Regions from separate parts of the Homo sapiens genome. Here regions 1, 2, 4 and 5 are each linked to region 3. Evidence: promoter capture Hi-C in 16 types of primary human blood cells and fetal thymus (Javierre and others, 2016). All regions are on one chromosome and are shown on one strand. Each heading gives the region's core, a stretch centred on a gene start or on the middle of the fragment in contact. The rest is flanking DNA. Distances are from core to core; before and after follow the strand shown.

Region 1 (3,614 bases), core at 177-2,676, 270 kb after region 3:
CCAGGTTCTGCATTTCTAAAATGTCCTGGTTAATGACATTTCACTCACAACTTTTTTTTCCCTTTTGATTTATGGAAAATGTGAAGCATTCGCACAGGGAAGAAAATACAGCCTCTTTTCATTTTGCTTAAACCCAGGAAGGCTTTATTCAGTAGCACCTGTTTGGGTGGACTTCAACAAGCTTCTCCAAAATAGAAACGTTCCATTAGTAAACTGTTTAGGAAATAGACCGTGCTCAGAAATGAGCCTGCTGAAAGAGCTGCAAAGTTATTCTGCCGTTTCATCCTTGCTTATTTTCCCCCCATGGAGTTTCATGTCTTATTTTTAAACTATGTTTCACTTTAAGTGACAAAGCAGCCCTTTGGAAATTATATATAAAGTCTATTATTTTAATTTGTTTATTAAAAATTATTTTGTCTCTTAATTAGTGTTAGATCCAAAAGAGTGCTGCTATGTTTATTTACATATGTATAGACATATGTACATATATGTTATGTATATTTCTTGCTATGCATGTAATATATAAGCATTGTACATTATATATTATATAACTCAGATAATATATAATATTTATATATAAATGTTTATATGCTATGTATATTTACATATATACACACATGTATATATGTGGATATATAAATAAAGCACTAAGCATGGAACATATACATAAAGCACTAAGCATGATATATATATATGCTTATATATAATATATATAATATATGTATTATATTATATATAATTCCAGATATATAATGTATGCTTAATCCTTTATGTATATTTTCCAGTCAGTCCTTACAATTCTGTAATGCAATTGTTAGTTCTCCATTTTTCAAGCAAAGAGCCTCATTAGAGAATTTGCTTCTCTAGCCCAAGGATGTGCAGTCATAACAAACTTGGTATTTCACCTCAGTGCTGATTCTAGAGCCTGTGTTTTCCCTCCTGTCCATCATTCTGATTTTCTCACAGCTAACAATATAGGAGCATCAGATATTCCTGTATTGGATGGAACAGAAAGGAAGCTAAGAGCTCATCCACTTCACCTTCATTTTATGGGAGGAATGGGAGCCCAGAGAATTGAAATGACTTGCTCAAATGTACGTAATTAACTGACAAGAGCCGTCACTTCTCAGCATCTCCTTTTACTCCAGAATTCTACTCACATAGTAGAATCTCACTCAATGTGAGAGTTTATTGGAATTTACTCCCCCAAATGAAACTAGATTTATTTTATTTTCTTTATATGTAAAGGAATTCATGATTTAAAAAACAGCATTCACTCTGTCCACATAAAATCGTGAATATGCACAAAGGGATGTATGAAAGATGAACTCTAAAATACTCATGGTAGTTATCTCCAGGTAGTGGGATTTCAGATTATCTGTCTCTTTCTCTATACTTTTTTGTGTTTGAACGTATATATATATATATAATTAGAACATGCAATAAGGTCAGATGCTCAGTTAATAACCCCTTGTGTAGTTTTTCTAACATTCTCATGTTCATGTAACAATATAAAAACATGTATACATGTATTTAAGGGTTGTCAATATTTGTTTTACAAAAATGTTTTTTCCCTATACATTCTCTGAAGTTTGTTCTATCACTTAAAAACGTTTTGTGAAAATCTCTCCAAATCAATTGGTAAAGCTCTATTTAAATAGTGCCCAACATTACATGGTTAAGAATATGCCATGATTTTACCCATTCCCCTTTCAATGAATTCTCAGTTTGTTTCTTGATGTTTGCCACCACAAGCAATGCTGCAGTGAATATCCTTATACTGGTGGCTTTATTTCTATAGAACAGACTTCCAGTAGTTGAACTGGTAGTAAAGTCCTCCTTTGCTACTCTCTCCTCATTATTTTATGTGTATTCTTGGACATACATAGTCTTCCACATGAATCTTAAAAAATTCTGTATCTAATTAAATAAAAACCTTACTTAAATTCCACTTAAATTAAAATTCCATTAATTATACATGTTACTATTGAGGAAAATGACATTTTTATGGTGTGAAGTTTTCCTTTCCATACTATATATTTTGATTACTTTTCTGATCTTGCTTTAGATCATTTGATAAAATATTATAGCTAACTTCATATGGCTCCTGTGCCTTTCAGGTCTATATTTATATCCTGTAAAATTTTCATATTAATTCTAATATTATGATATTTCTTGAATTTTCTAGGTATAAAATTACATTACTAAAGTATGATCTTTCATCTCTTCTTTTTCCATATTTATGCAAAATATTTCAATTTTTGCCTTCTTGCATTTACTAGAATTAACTAATGTTGAATTTTGGGGATAATGAGCATGTCTTTTCTGTTCTTGATTTTAATGAAAATGGTATTCTCATTTCATTATTTATGATGATGTTTGCTATTGATATTTGTTCATCATTATCATATTTTCATACTTTTCTATTTATAACTTTACTTAGTTTTTTGACTAATAATGTGCTTTAATATACTGATATAATGAATTTCATTAATATATTTATTAATATTGAACCATTCTTATATTCTTGTATTTTTATAATAAGCCCTCCTTGGTCAAATATTATTACTATTATGATACATTGTTCTCTTTGCTCATTCTTTCTTAAACATTTTTGCAATAATATGTATTAGTATGCTTGCATGATAGTTTTCTTCTGTTTTAAACCTTTTAAAGCTTTCCCACTCAAGTTATTCTCAATTTATTCATAGGGAATTTTTTTCTTATTTTCACAGTTATGTGTATCTCTTATGGAATCCTGTAGCTAGAATTTTCTTCCTAATTTGTTTTTTAACTAATTTTTAACTAATTTAAAAGCTGAAGAAAACAATGATTTTAAAATGCAAGCCACTGTTTCCTGAAAAGACTGAAACTCAAATTCACTTTTGGTAGACTGTCCTTTTATTCTGGGAAAACCATATGAAGAAACCGTGTGGTTTCATAAAGTTTATTCAGAAAAAACCTAGTAAAATCATCCCTCTCCCAAAAGAAATATTTTTGCCTCAGAAGCTGAGTGTTCTGCAGGGTGATGCTAACATGTGTCTGCTTGTGCCAGAGCTCAGATTTCTGTAGACTGGGTTATGTTTTCTTCTGACTGGAGATTTCATGTTTGTTTTATGGTGAGGAGGGAGGGAAAGAGAAAAATAGGAGAAATGTTTTCCTTTTCTGAATGATTTAGAATGCACCCTATATCAAACGCATGAGGATTTTTAAAGCATAATTTGCAAGATGTAGAGAGCTGGAAAGAAGTGCTACAGGACCAAATCCCATGTATGACACAGTAAGAAAGAAATGGACTGGCCTAGGGCAGCTCTGCCTAAACCATTTTGTAAGATTAAGCCACCCAGAATCTGCTGAAGAGAAACCAGCTTGAGGTGGCTGTCCCACCCACTCCCCACCTGTGTGTGTAAAATGGCATTCCCCAAGAAAGAGGCAGTCATTCCCCCTTTGAAAAAATGCTGAGAAAGGGTAGATCCTAACACAAGAAATGGAGCCTGGGAAGCCAGGCCCTGAGTTGGGCTGAGGCAGAGAGCATTTTCTTCTCTCCTGACCTTGGGCAGTTGGGTCTGGACAGGAAGTCATGATGCAGGGGTGGGCAGGCCCAGCCAGTGGAG
Region 2 (3,482 bases), core at 652-3,151, 330 kb before region 3:
ACCTGAGACTGAGTAATTTCTTAAAAAAAAAAGAAGAGGTTTAAGTGGCTCATAGTTCTGAAGGCTTTACAGTAAGCATGGTGCTGGCATCTACTCGGCTTCTAGGGAGGCCTCAGGAAGCTTATAATCATGGAGGAAGTTCGTGAAGCAAGAGCAGGCACATCATATGGCAAAAGCAGGAGTGAGAGAGAGTGTTGAGGGGGAGGTTCCACACACTTTTAAATGACCAGATCTCACGAGAACTCATTGTCCTGAAGACAGCACTCAGCCATGAAGGATTTACCCCTATAACCCAAACATCTCCCACCAGGCCCCACCTCCAACATTGGGGATTACAGTTCAACATGGGATTTGGGCAGGAACAAATATACAAAGTATATCAAGCATTCAACAAGTATTTATTTAGCACTTACTCTATGGTCAGTACTTTTTCAGAGACAGTATGTATGGTAGAAATATTTATATTCTTGGTAAGGAAGCAAGACCATTACATATGAAATAACAGCTGTTATAAGATGTACCATGTAATACAAATTATACTTTATATAGCAGTTGGTGAAAAGCATGATTAACATGCAAGCTGAAATCAAATTTTCATGTAGCTTTTTTTAAAAGCTTTAAAAAAGAGACTTTTTTTAGGACCTTTTTTTAAAAAGCTTAGGTACACAGCATTGGATTAAACATGTCTTTGTTTCATGACATACTCTCATTATTAGTTCATGCTTGGTTTTTATTTATTTACTTAGTTATTTTTAATAATGTAATAAGTATCTCTGTACCCATCACCCAAAGCAAAACTAGATTCTTGATAATAACTAACATCTAATCTTATAAGTCCCTTCCTTAACGTGCTTTCACTGACCTGAGGTAACTCATTCTGAATTCCATGTACATTGGGAATTTTTAAATTTTAGATGTTTTTAACTTTAATTAAAAAATCTTATCTTTTAAGGCTGACCTTATACACTTAATATTATATTACTAAAATTCATCCATTCTTGTGCATTTTTTGAGCTGCCACATAACATTCCATTGTGTGATTATACCACCATTTTTACATCCACTCCCTCGATGATGGAGTGTTGCTAATGTTTAACTTTAGGAGATAATTTCAAACTATTTTCAAAGTGGTTGCCTCAATTTACTTTTCACCTGCAGTGTAAATAAGATCCTTTGGAGCTGTATTGTCTCTCACATTTAGTATTGTCAGACTTTTAAATTTTTGCCAATGGAATGGATTATTCTTATTTTGGTCTTAATTTACATTTCCCTTATTACTCATAATACTGAATATTTCTTTATATATGTATTATTTATAAGAAATATCTGTTCATATCTTTTGCCTGTTGGGTTGTTTTTAGTTTTCTCATTGACTTGTATGAATTCTTTATATATTCTTGACCTAATAGTTTTTTTATTGTGTTTTCCAGTTTTTAAGTCTGTCTTTCACTGTCTTAAGATGTCTTTCAATGAGTAACAGTTCTTAATTTGAATATAATCATATTTATCCATCTTTTATAATCAACGTCTTTGTGTCTAGTTTAAGAAATATTTTCTATCTAACGGTCTAAAAAATACTTATATTTTCACTAAGAGTTCTATTGTTCTTGTTTTTAATGGTGTGAGAGGCGGTTAGGGATACCATTGTCATGTGGATAACCACTTTTTCTACCTCCATTTACTGAATAGTCCCTCCTTTCCTCACTATCTGACATATCACTTCTGCTACTTTCCAAAGTTCCAAACATGCATTAATTTGTTTCTGGGTTCTCTATTATATTCCATTAGCCAGTTTATCTGTCCTTTTGCCAATACCATATCTCTTAATCGCTTGCTTGGTAAGAAGTCTTGGTATCTGGTTAGCAAGCCTCCCTTATGCATTTCTTCTTTAGAAGCTGTAGCAGGCAGCTTCTAAGATGGCTTCTCCTAATTCTGGTATTCACTCCCTTATGTAACTCTCTTCCCTTGAGTGTGACCTGGACTCAGTGACTTCTTTCTAATGAATAAAATTTGGCAAAAATGATAGGAATGTAACTTCTAAGATTAGGTTACAAAAGACTGTGGCTTCTATCTTGGGCACTCTCTCTTGCTTACTATAAAGGAAGCCAGCTGCCACGTGAGCTGTCCTACAGAAAGTCTGAAAATAGAAAAGAGATGACAATTATTGATGGAGCAAGATTCTTGAGAGATGAGGAAGGATGGATTCAAGAGGATAGTGGAGGAGAGTAATATTGAGCATGTAAAGGGGTGCTGTAAACCTCTGAGAGTGGGGTATGGGAAGAATGAACAAATGAAAACACAGCTCTATTTGGGTGGCATATAAGTAGGGAAAAGAGCAGAGCCTCTTAAATTCCAGCATGAATACCGTTGATGAATACTTAACATTTTTTCTAGCTGACTATGACTGAATACATAGCAGTCTAGTAGAAAGAGCCCCAGACTATAAAGTCTTAAGACCTGGGTTCTAGTCTTGGGACTGACACTTAACATTTTGTTTGATGTTTAGCAACACACCTAATTTCTCTGGGTTTCAGTTTCCTCGTCTTATTTTGTTGTTGAGGGATTTAGATTACCAGTACATGCAAGATCCCTTCTAAATTAAAGCTGCTGTAACTGGTTATTTTCATTGTGCATATTTCATAAAGCCATATTAAACTAAATTTGCAGATTTCTATGAAGTATTTTTTGTATTTATTATTCATAATGAGAATTGTTTTTTAATATGTCAGTCTATTCATATGCTTCTTTGAGAAGCTCCTTACTGTTTTCTCTGTGTTTGAGAATTACAAATAGTTGTTAGCATTGACATCAGATTTAATCGCTAGTACTTTCCGGTTTTTACTAGCATGATTTCCAAGCCATCCTATATCCAAGAGTCTTAATTCATTCCTCAGAACTCATTACTTCTGTCTTTTAATTACTGTAACAAATATTGTCCTAGCTAGTATTAATGTTATATTATTTGTTTGGACAAGGAGCTACTATTTGAAATTAACCTGCATTTATTCCTAAAAAATAAAATTAATGAAAGCAATAGCCTATTTTAATCAAAATCATTTCATAAGTCTAGAAGTACAAATTTGTTTCCATTGTTAATTTCTAGTATTTTCCAGGTGGTAATTAATGCTTTTCTAGCTTGAATGGCTAAAGCTTGTTTTCTTCTTCAAGTAGAATTAGTTGGAATGATAACTTGGTAAGCCATTTTGATGCTGTTGCATTTAATAACTGAGAGAGCTTAAATCTTTATGTCTTGTTTTTATATAAATATTCTTAACTATATTATACAGTAGAATACTAATATAGAATGTAGCACAAATGAGGCCTGATACATACTAGATTTATATGCCTTTTAGTGCATAACATTTTCTCAACTCAAACTATGCAAATAACTTTTTAACAAATGGAAATGTGTGGGTGTATATGTGTGTATGTGTGATTTCATTATTCAGTCTTTAACAGGGCAGTCTTTTAGGTAGTAGGCA
Region 3 (3,622 bases), core at 363-2,862:
GTGAAAGGGATGGGGCTGGCTGCCCCTGATTGAAATCTCAATTTATCTACCCTCCCTTCTTAACCGCTCCTTTCCAAGAGGCTAGACTACAAAAAATTTGGGCTCCAAGAAGTATGAACCAGAATATGGATATTTTGTAAAAATGGAATGTAAGTTGAGGTTCCTGAACAATGTGATGTTAGGCAGGGTGCGGTGGAATTGGCCTGTAGTCCCAGCTACTTGGGAGGCTGAGATGGGGAAGATCCCTTGAGGAGGATCTCTTGGGTTCAGGAGTTCGAATCCAGCCTTGGCAGCAGACCCCATCCCTGAAAACAATAAAAATTAAAACAACAACAGTGGGATACTAGTCTTTTAATTTGAAAAAAAAAGGGGTGGAGAAAGGGAAAACCAGTTTTCAAAAAAGGCCAATTTCCTAGACATTAGTGGTTGATTACTAACTCATTTCATTAAACTAAATTATGAATTGGCTTTTCTCGTCAGTGTCACCACTCTGATGGCGTTCTTTTCCATTTTCCATCTTCACCCTGGCCGAATGTGGGAAATGATCTGGTTTGTGCATAATCCGCGAGGCCCAGGGAGGATCTTTTGCCCCTATTGTTTTCTTGGGTGTTCTCACTCTGGGGGCCTGACATTCCTCGCGTGTCTAAGGCAATGAGGGAGCAGTGAAGCGCGGGGAAGCCGCACAAAAGACATCCAAAGGCTATCAATGGAAAAAGATCAATTAGGTGCACACAAGAAACACCCAATATGCCAGGGAAGAGAAAAATACCCTTTTCCAGAGGGTGGGAAATTGATTGAGCTTCTGTGAGGGTCCACAAAGAACTGGACGGATGCAGTGGTGGATGGCGATCTCTCTGGACCACTCCGGACGCGCCCAGCAGACGCAGCCTACGCCTTTAGGTCCTAGGAGGCTGAGAAGGGTGGGGAGAGGGGGGCAGCACGATCTTGTGTCTTTCCTCCCCGTGCCGCCTCTACCGAATCGCGGATGCTTCATTAATCTTGCAGGCGCCGCAGCTCGGGTCAGTATGGAGGCGGATCGGTGGCAGAGCCCGGGCCTCTGGGCTGCGCCCGCCCGTTCAGCCTGGCCCGGGAGGGGAGCGGCCGCGCGGTGGGCCAAAGACGCCCGGCCTTCCCTCCGTCTGCTTCCAGCAGGCACAGCCGGGAGGCTGGGCTCAGGGGCTGACCCGAATCTCCCCTAGAGCTGGGCCCACCCGGCTGCCCCCCGAGCAGCCTCGCCGCTCCCACGCCACCGCCCAAGTGACAGGCCCGGGAAGGCCGGACGGGACGCAGTCTTCCCGCCGGGGTCTTCCCTCCGGCTGGCCGGCCGCTGCAGGGCGCGCGCGCACACACGTACACACACACACACACCTGCCCACACACACACACACACACACACACACACACTGCCGCCTCCTTCCCGCCCCGCAGCCCTAGCAGCCCCCAACCCGCTCCCCAGCGCGCTGCGCCCCGGCGGCCTCCGCAGGCCCCGCCCCGGGGAGGAGAGCCAGGCGCGCGCGGGAGCTAGGCTCGGGGAGGGGCCGGCGGTGGGGGAGTGTCTGCTGCCCCCGCCCCTCGAGTGAGTGACTGAGCGAGGAGCTCCCCTCCCTCGCTCGCTCCTCGCAAGCTCCCGCTCGCTCCCTGCCCACTCCCGGGGGGACGTTCCGTGCCGCGGCCGCCGCGGCCGCTGCTTCTTTCACACTTTAGTTGGGAGCTGCGCGCCGCGCTCAGTTACTGGAGAGCTGGCCGCGCGCCGCCGCCTCCCGCACGCTTGCACGCGGGCCCGGCTTCGGGGTTTTGGGTTCTTACTCCAAGCGGCGGGGAGGAGGGGGAGCCCCGGACACACTGTGGGGAGGAGGAGGAAGAAGAGGAGGAGGGAGGAAGAAAAAAGACGAGGAGGACAGGGGCGGGGGGCGGGAGGCTTGCCACCTTCAGCCCCCCCGCGAACGCCCAAGGTAAGTGTGAGCCATTGCCTGCTCTGGGGCGGGGGGAGCTGGCGGTGCAGCCCGCCCCGGCTCGGCTACCCGGGCATCCCCGGGTGGGCAGGGAGGGAGGCCTGCGGGGTGTCTGCCGCACGGAAGGGATGGGAGCCGCGGTCGTGGCGCTGCCTGCGCGGGGCCCGGGCCGGGGCTGCTGCTGGTGCGGGGCTGGCGGGGTTGCTGCCAGGGACGGAAGCTGGGGTGGGGGAGCCGCGAGGGGCGTCTGCCGGCCTGGGCGGAGGGGCTGGGATGTGGTCGGGGCTGCTGACGACTTTCGTCACATCGAGGCCTGGGTGGCTGGTGTTAGACACCCCTCCCTTCCCACCCGCACCCTGCCGCCCTCAGCCTTCCTGCTCTCCTCTAGCTTTGCATGTAGCCACCGTACTTTGCAAGCCAGAGCTTGAAAGGAAAAACACAATTTAGGATCCTTTGCTAAGTATCCAAGTCCCTTCTCTCGCTCCGACTGATTGATGTGTTTGTGTGGGTGGTTTGACCCCCGGGATTTCTGAAGTTTTGACCTTTTTGGGGTGGCTCGTTTCGTTGCATCTGTTTGCCCACCTCGGTGTATTTATTATTCGTGCCCATGCGAGGCAGCCAGAGGGTGCTTGGTTATTGTACACGAAACAGATTTCACTCTCCTCTGCAGGCAGTTCGCGAAGTGCCGCCGCCGCGGCTGCCTTTGGTCTGCTGGTTAATGTCCTTTCCCTATCATCCACCCTGCTCCCTCCCTCTACGGAGGGTTAGTTTTTGTTTTTGTTTTTGTTTTTTCCTTTCCACTTACTGTTTGTGTGAGAGAAGTCCTGGGCTTAAGGGCTCTCAGCACTCGTTCATTTCTCTTCTAAAGCTCTGAATGGCTCAGGCATGTCGGTAAAATTTGGGGTGGTCCTCTTTGCTCCAAGAGTTGCATGGCCAAAGATAAAAATATGCACACATAAACACGCATTAATTCTGAGAGACGGCAAGCAGTTTGAGAGAGAAATAATTTGTTTTCAATAGGAAGTCGGTGACCTATGGGATCTCTTCCATTGCCGGTGGGTTAGGAAAATTGTTTTAAAATAGATAGTGCTTGTGTTGTCCGTGGCTGGAAGACAGCCATAGTTCAGTTACTGAAGCAATTCTGAAAGTGATACACCCTGGGCACCCAGAACCTCAGTAAAGACACACGTAGTCTGACTCAGATGTTAGGAAGGGGACTGACACACCATAGATTCCATGGAGTATTTTTTTCTTTCTTTTCTTTTTTTTTTTTGTAGGAGACTGTCCAGACCGTTTGGGGAAATGACAAGTTCATTACACAGACAGATGTAATGAACACCTCCCTATTCAAGGGGATGGGTTCAGCTTCTGCCTAATAGGAATAACCTTTTGATTTGATAGAATTGGAATGTACCAGGATAGAAACAAACATAGGTGGAGTGGGCCTGAGCTACTTCAGCACTGTTGTGGGGAGAAGGTGATGTTTCTGAAGGGTCTTTTAAGTTCAAGATGCTGAATTTGGAGTTTTCCCCCCTTTTTCATATTGTCTAGAGCTGGATTGTAGGATCAATAGAACATGTTCCATGTTGGCTGTTTGGAAATGTAATTGTCAGACATGGAAATTAATTTGGATTGGATCACCTATTTTTGTTTTGCTACTTACAAAGTAG
Region 4 (3,529 bases), core at 209-2,708, 300 kb after region 3:
TCGGCTCACTGCAACCTCTGCCTCCTGGGTTCAAGCAATTCTCCTGCCTCAGCCTCCTGAGTAGCTGGGAATTACAGGTGCCCACCACCATGCCCGGTTAATTTTTGTATTTTTATAGAGACGGGGTTTCACCACGTTGGCCAAGCTGGTCTTGAACTCCTGGCCTCAGGTGATCCACCCGCCTTGGCCTCCCAAAGTGCTGGGATTGCAGGTGTGAGCCACCATGCTCAGACTCACAGAGGTTTAGAAAGTACTGGCTTAAAATGAGACGCCTCTCACTTGGTTAGCCTAGAATTTTCCATTATTGCCTTACCAATACGAGATAAACAGGTTACCATTCTTTCCTGTAGCTCTTACTCAGAATTTCAAATTTAGAATGTCACATTCAGTGATTTTGGTCTAAAGAGGACCATTTTTGCCATCACCACAAAGCTTGGGAACCCTTGGCTTTGAGACCCACAAGAGGGCCCACCCGGCAAAGGATCTGTATCTTGGTCTCAGCATTTTGAGCTCTGCCCACACTTGTGTTAATTCAGATGAACACACAAAAGAAAGTACAGTATGTATTCTTTCATTAATGAGTTTACTCATCAGGAAAGGAAGAGAATAAATGGTGCTAATCAGAATAGCCAGTTTTCAGGGAATTAAAAGACATTTTTGCTTGAATGTGCTAAAAGTTTAAATGAGGAACAATACATTATCTAAGTCAGTAGTTTTTACACTGTATTCAGTGGAGCCCTGGAGTTTTGCCAAGGCATGTCAAGGGCAGCTCTGAAGTTCTGAAGTTAGTAATTATCCCTCTGGCTGAATGTTAACTTGAACAGAGTGGAGGAACTCAGGCTGTAAGGCCTGAGGACGACTGTGAAACAGCTGTGCCAGAACCTTCACGCTGCCTAAGAGCACATTCAGTTCTGGAGATGTGTGACCTTGGTCAAGTCACTTCCCACCTCTGGCATCTGTCGTCTTCTCTGTCCAATGAGGAGAATCAATGGCGTGACAATTTAAAAAATCTTTTGGCTCTAAAATTCTGAGACCCTCACATGAATTGCGGTCTCTTCAATGTTTACTTCCAATAAAAAAAGATTTTTAGGGCTACCTTCATACAACTGTCTTCAAAATTGGCACATCGTTTCTTTGACATTTCTCAGTGATTGCAAATCCTAGCCCTTTCAGGATAAATGTGATTTGGGGAAGTGACAGAAAACATCCACTCATTCCAAACCAGGTGTTTCATTCAACTCACCCCACAAGAGCTTAGTGAGTGCCTTTCAAGAGCTAGACACTGGCAGAGGTGAGACAATAGTGATGAGGCCAAACTTTTCCTTTTTCTCAAGCGGCTCCCAGGCCAGTGATAAGCTGGTAAAACACATACATGGGTTTCTGGCGTGGTTTTTAGATGTTTCCTAGGTGGGGCCATTGTGACAGGAGATGATGAAATGTTGGAGCCAAGGATCAGAGAAATTGGTAGTTGCCTTGGAAACAAGAAGACTTGTCTCTTGTATCTACCATTTTGAAGTCTGATAAGTATCCTCTGACTCAAGAGACCATAAGGCCTGAAGCTGTAAGCAGTCCTTTCTCCTATTCTCACCCCTTTGGGGAGTCACTCTCTAGCCCCTCACCATAATTTTTTCTTCATAAACTCATTGTCCTTTTCATTTACTTTATTTTCTATCTTCTTTACTACATTTTGTCCATTTGTCCACTACAACCACTGCAGGTCCTTTAAGTACCTTCAACTCCCAGATCCCTTTGGTAGCTGGCTGGTTGGCAGGTGAATGTTGTTTGCAAGGGTATCTGAGTCAGCCTTCATAGCAGCCATATAACACCCACTTGGTTCAAATAGATAATTGTGCATAGTTAGGAGAGTCAGTCTGTATCGCAGAAATCAGGCTAATCTAGGTTCAAATCCCAGGCCCATCTAACTTGCTCTGTGGCTTTGGGCAAGCCACTTAAATGAAATTATAGATATTTTGCAAGGTTGCCATATGGATAAGGAATCACATATATAGAGCACTCAGTATATGTTAATGCCTAGTGAGGGTTCAAAAAGTGGTGGTTCTGACTAGGTGCGATAGCTCACACCTGTAATCCCAGCACTTTGGGAGGCTGAGGCGGTCGGATCACTTGAGGTCAGGAGTTCGAGACCAGCCTGGTCAACATAGTGAAATCCTATCTCTATTAAAAATACAAAAATTAGCAGGGTATGGTGGCGCACGCCTATAATCCCAACTACTAGGATGGCTGAGGCAGGAGAACTGCTTGAACCCAGGAGACAAAAGTTGCAGTGTCCCAAGACTGCACCACTGCACTCCAGCCTGGATGACACAGTAAAACTCTGTCTCGAAAAAGAAAAAGTGTTGGTTCTTTTTATTATTAGGACTGCAAGGATGATACCAGTGTTCATATAGCTTATTAGAGAGCTGGCCTGGACCAGTCCTCTTTGAGGTGTTGCTGGAACTTGAAGGAACCACTGTTGAGCTGAGCAGAAGCTTACAGATACACCCTAGGGGAGTATGTGGCTTGGATGGGGCTCCTGGAGACAGCGAGCCACCAGGAACCACAGAAGGAAGGTGGGGTGAAGTTGAGTCAGCAGTCTGGCCAGACCAGTTGATGGAAGAAAGACCTGAACTGGATTCAAGAGACAAACTTTCATTGCCTCAGGTTAAAGATGGTCTCAAAGGTTGACATTAGAAAATGTAAAAAGGTGAAGCCAGGCATGGTGGCAGGTGCCTGTAATCCCAGTTACTTGGGAGGCTGATGTGGAAGGACTGCTTAAGGCCAGGAGTTCAATGCTGCAGTGCACTATGTTCTCACCTGTGAACAGCCACTGCACTCCAGCCTGGGCAACATAGTGAGACCCTGTCTCAAAAATTTTTTTAAAAAGAGTAATTGTAGGAAGGTGAATGAATGGATGTCCACTTTCCATTGACCTACTTGATTAAATGAATAATCTACATTTAAAAAGCCACTTAATCACCACCAGGGCCATTAAGACATATGAAAATCTCAACAGTTGAAAGAGGTCTATGGTGCATATGATAAATTTGGAAGTGGAAATTGGTGAATGATCCTCTAAAAACGAATGGGGTCTTCCTTGTACATACACATGTGGAGGTAAGGATCTGACAGCTCGGAGGTTGCAAACTGGAGACCACTGCTGTCACATATATTTTGTTTAACTTGAACAATGTTTTAAAATAAGATTTCACCTGAATTTCTGGTTTTTCTCAAATATTAAAAAGATGGAGCCACACATTCTTCCATAGCAACAGTATGCCTGCATCAAGTACCCACTGTCTCCTGCGGCTATTTAGTGGGGTAGGGGACTTCAGAAAAGGTTGCTAAAACCAAGAAACTACTTTTTAGGGGTTTCAGGCTATTTGCCACTCCCTCCTTGAAATGCTTTCTTGGTTTTTATACACTGCTTCAGCCTTGTTTTCCTCCCACTTCTCCAACTGCTCTTTTTCATTCCCTTCTACAAAAGTCCTTCCTCCTCTGCTGTCCCCAGATTCTAGGAATCTCAGGGCTC
Region 5 (3,327 bases), core at 232-2,731, 430 kb before region 3:
TATCATGATACTCCTTTTTTTAAGATAAGGAAACTGAGAACAACAAAAACCAAGTAGTTTTCCCAAGACCTCAGAGCCATTTCAGCAGCCAAGCCAGTCTTGCTGGCTCTCAGATGCAAGCTCAGGCTTGTGTTCCAAAATGAACACACAAGCCTGCACACGCGTGCATGTGCACACACATATAGACACCTTTCCTACCTCATCAAATCCCATCTTGTCTGGATATTTAGGGACAACTGAGACATACTGGGAGGGTTCCATTGGAGGACGGTCAACTGGAAGACACAAGAAACATGCAGAGTGCTTTGTTAATGAAAGGGTCAGAAATCAGAATTCCATCCGCATGCCTGATCTCTAGGGTTGGAATATAACTTGGAAATACAGGGCAGGGGACAATGGCAGCAGTTCTCCAGGATTGAGTAGCCACACAGGAACCCTGCTGGTCAGGGCACTGGTTTCAGGAGCATTTGATTATATGGAGATTGCAACATTTGCTCCACTTCCCTTAAGACTTATTTCAAGAATATTTGGGAGGCAGTTTAGGATAATGGTTAAGAGGAAGGGCTCCAGAGTCGGATGATCTGGGTCCAAACCTTGGTTTGCGAAGGAGTAGGAGAGTTAGGGGACCTCTTTAAGCTCATTTCTTTGGTGTAAAATTGGGATAATAGAAGTGTATCTGTGTTATAAAATTTAAATGAGACCTGCGTGCAAAGCACTCACCACTTTAACACAGTAAATGCTCAACAACTCTTAGCTATTACTTACTATGGCCCATGATGAAAGAGCTCAGAAATAGGCTAGAATTTTTACTGAAAAACACTTTTTTCTCTGCATTTAAAATTGTCAAAGTGGGGGACTATTTTTATCCCACCTGGGCAGGTTTAGGTGTGGGTGCGCAAAAGGTCCATTGCTTTAACAGGATCTAACCACAGAGAGCTGGCCCATGTCTAATGGGAAGATTCCAGCTGGGAGTGACACTACTTCTTCAATAATGAAAGTTTTATTTATTTGATACTCTAAAAAAGCTTCCTTTGCAAACTATGTATTTTAAAGTTTGGAAGTAATATTGGTTAAGAAACCTGAAAAGGCCTTGAAGAATGTTTAGTATTATAAAAATTCAAAGTCCTCGAAGAATGTTTAGTATTATACAAATTCAAAGTCCTCATTTGATTTTCCTTAAAGGGATAATACAAAGAAAATTTAAAATGATAGCTGGTAACTGGGTTGTTGAAAGAACTATGGGTAATGGCCATGACTACTGTAACGTATCTGTTCACCTCTATTCCAGGCACAGGAGAGGAATACACTCTCTTGCCCTTGAAGTTACTCAGGGCTATATGACTTTCTGGGGAAAGTTTATAGTGTGGTGCTGCTGCTCCACTCTCCAAGGGCTCCCCCGACACTGCCCTTGGTCCCACCACTGTGCTCATAGCGGCATGTGTGGATATGGATAGCAGATGTGAATTGGAAGCAGCCTGGAACATTGCATCAACACATGAAGGGCAGCTCCCAGGAAAGACACCTGCTCTGCAGACTTGGATAGCAAGAAATAAGCCATTGTTGTATGAAGCCAATCAGATTTTTATATTCCAGCATAACTTTGCCCATCCTGAGATACTGTCCAAAGGGTATGATCTGTTTAACTTCACTGAAATATTATAGAGAAATCCTGACATCCAATTTTACTTATTGGCGAATGATGTGAAATTCTAGAACGTAGTGAGACAGAGTTCTTAGGCCAAACACAAGAGCTGGTCTCATTACTTCAAACTTGACACTTACAGTCATATTTCTGTGCATATGCAGTGCATGTCTTTGTCTTCCCAATAGCAGCCGAGAATATTCTGGTCCTTTCTGCTCCACTCCACTCCTTATTAGTTTCTTTTAAAATCAATAGGGAGGGTCCACCAGGTACACGGTTAGGTTTTTAAGAGAAAGAAGCTTAATGTACCAGCTTCCTCCTGTTCATGATATTGTCTGAGGAGCTGTCTCACTCTCCCTCCTGGGGCCTGAGACTTGGGAAGATGTTATATTTTGAGTTACCCATTCTAGGCTGCTGGTCTCCTTTGGACTCACATGGCCTGTGTGGCTTTAACATTTCAGCCAAAGAGACTGCTTTTAGCCACTTTGTTTCCATCAAACATAGGCAGTCATTGCATTCACAGGACAAGTGTTGCAAAAAAAAAGCCACAAGTGGTTGGCTCCCGAAAGTCATCACTGAGCAAAAATATCAGAGAAGTGTGCTTGGGTTTTGCCACTGAAGGCAGCAGTAAGCCACAGAGGAAAACAGGAAGTGATACAGTGAGTCAGACCTAAGAAACTTAGTCTGTGGGGAGAAGGATGTATCTTTGCTGACAACAGACTTGAAGGTTAGGTATATCCTGGCTTCTGTTTGTAGTCATTTCTGACTCCATCTTTCATAATTGATCTGGTCTCTCATTAAATCCCTTCCTGGAAATAATCCTTCCCTGTACTGCCACTTGGGACAATGGGCTTCATTGCTTTCGGGATAGTTTCAAGATCTAATGTGAATAATTACAGCCATTGTTACAGAGGTCTTATCACTCACAGAACCCAGAGTTCTGTGAGTGATATATATATATGTCACATATATACTTGACATATATAATCACATATATTTAATGTTCACATGTACCATGGGATATGTATGAGTGTCTCTATTTTTATAGACAAGGAAACAAACATTAAATAACTTGCCCAAGATCACAGAGCTGATAGAGCTGGTATTTGAACCTAGGTCCTACTCCTTTACCGGAGCTCTTAATTCCCATTCCACATCATCCCCAGAGCTAGTCCTTGGTGGCCACTGGTATTAGCCAACCAGGCAACTGGGCTGGGTCCAGAGTAGCTCATTTAAGCCCAGTCATGTCTGGAATAGTACATGATAGATTGTACTTGGATCAAATCCTACCGCTTCTTCTCTATAATTTCTCCTGAACTTCTTCCATTGTTGCAGCCTAGCTTGGGTCCTTACCCACTATGCCTGGGCTGTTTTTGATTTTTTTCAAACACTTACATGCTCTCAGTCTTTCCTATTCTAATTAATCATGCTCACTGTTGTCAAAATAATCTTCCGCCGCACAGCTCTGTTCTCAACTGTAACAGTCACACTCAACACTATATTTAAGGGCTTAACAGGTTGCTAGGTGTTTTCATAGTCACCATGTAATTTTATCTTCACTTTTTTGTGGTGGTTTTTTTTTTTTTTTTTTTTTTACAAATAAAGAAACTGAGACCAAGCCAGATGTAGACTTGTCCAAGGTCAAATACTGAGTGATTGGCAGAGCTGGAACTCAGTTTTAGACA

The links. The method cuts DNA at HindIII sites, captures the fragments that hold promoters and counts their contacts. A CHiCAGO score of 5 or more calls a contact.
Region 1: a contact is called between a fragment that was not itself captured here and the fragment with the promoter of C1orf21 in region 3, in 5 of 17 cell types (megakaryocytes, M1 macrophages, M2 macrophages and 2 more). The highest score is 7.3, in megakaryocytes.
Region 2: a contact is called between a fragment that was not itself captured here and the fragment with the promoter of C1orf21 in region 3, in 1 of 17 cell types (M1 macrophages). The highest score is 5.2, in M1 macrophages.
Region 4: a fragment that was not itself captured here is called in contact with the fragment with the promoter of C1orf21 in region 3 in 1 of 17 cell types (M1 macrophages); the score reaches 6.0 in M1 macrophages.
Region 5: a fragment that was not itself captured here is called in contact with the fragment with the promoter of C1orf21 in region 3 in 1 of 17 cell types (M1 macrophages); the score reaches 6.5 in M1 macrophages.

What each region holds. Positions count from the first base shown.
Region 1 is chr1:184,657,256-184,660,869 of GRCh38, forward strand. No RefSeq gene overlaps it. Among named protein-coding and RNA genes, the nearest start is that of EDEM3, 96 kb to the right of the region's middle. The HindIII fragment of the contact is 2,495 bases long and covers 180-2,674 here.
Region 2 is chr1:184,055,048-184,058,529 of GRCh38, forward strand. All of the region lies in intron 3 of TSEN15 (tRNA splicing endonuclease subunit 15), which reads left to right. Among named protein-coding and RNA genes, the nearest start is that of TSEN15, 5.1 kb to the left of the region's middle. The HindIII fragment of the contact is 2,494 bases long and covers 655-3,148 here.
Region 3 is chr1:184,385,417-184,389,038 of GRCh38, forward strand. C1orf21 (chromosome 1 open reading frame 21) reads left to right here and starts at 1,613. Exons shown (of 6, transcript NM_030806.4): 1 at 1,613-1,952. C1orf21-DT (C1orf21 divergent transcript) reads right to left here and starts at 1,288. Exons shown (of 1, transcript NR_172919.1): 1 at 337-1,288. RefSeq lists silencers at 1,099-1,158, 1,249-1,358, 1,389-1,648. The HindIII fragment of the contact is 4,352 bases long and covers 1-3,622 here.
Region 4 is chr1:184,685,955-184,689,483 of GRCh38, forward strand. No RefSeq gene overlaps it. Among named protein-coding and RNA genes, the nearest start is that of EDEM3, 67 kb to the right of the region's middle. The HindIII fragment of the contact is 2,057 bases long and covers 431-2,487 here.
Region 5 is chr1:183,954,564-183,957,890 of GRCh38, forward strand. It overlaps COLGALT2 (collagen beta(1-O)galactosyltransferase 2), which reads right to left. Exons shown (of 12, transcript NM_015101.4): 7 at 199-275. Among named protein-coding and RNA genes, the nearest start is that of COLGALT2, 82 kb to the right of the region's middle. RefSeq lists a silencer at 1,269-1,433. The HindIII fragment of the contact is 916 bases long and covers 1,024-1,939 here.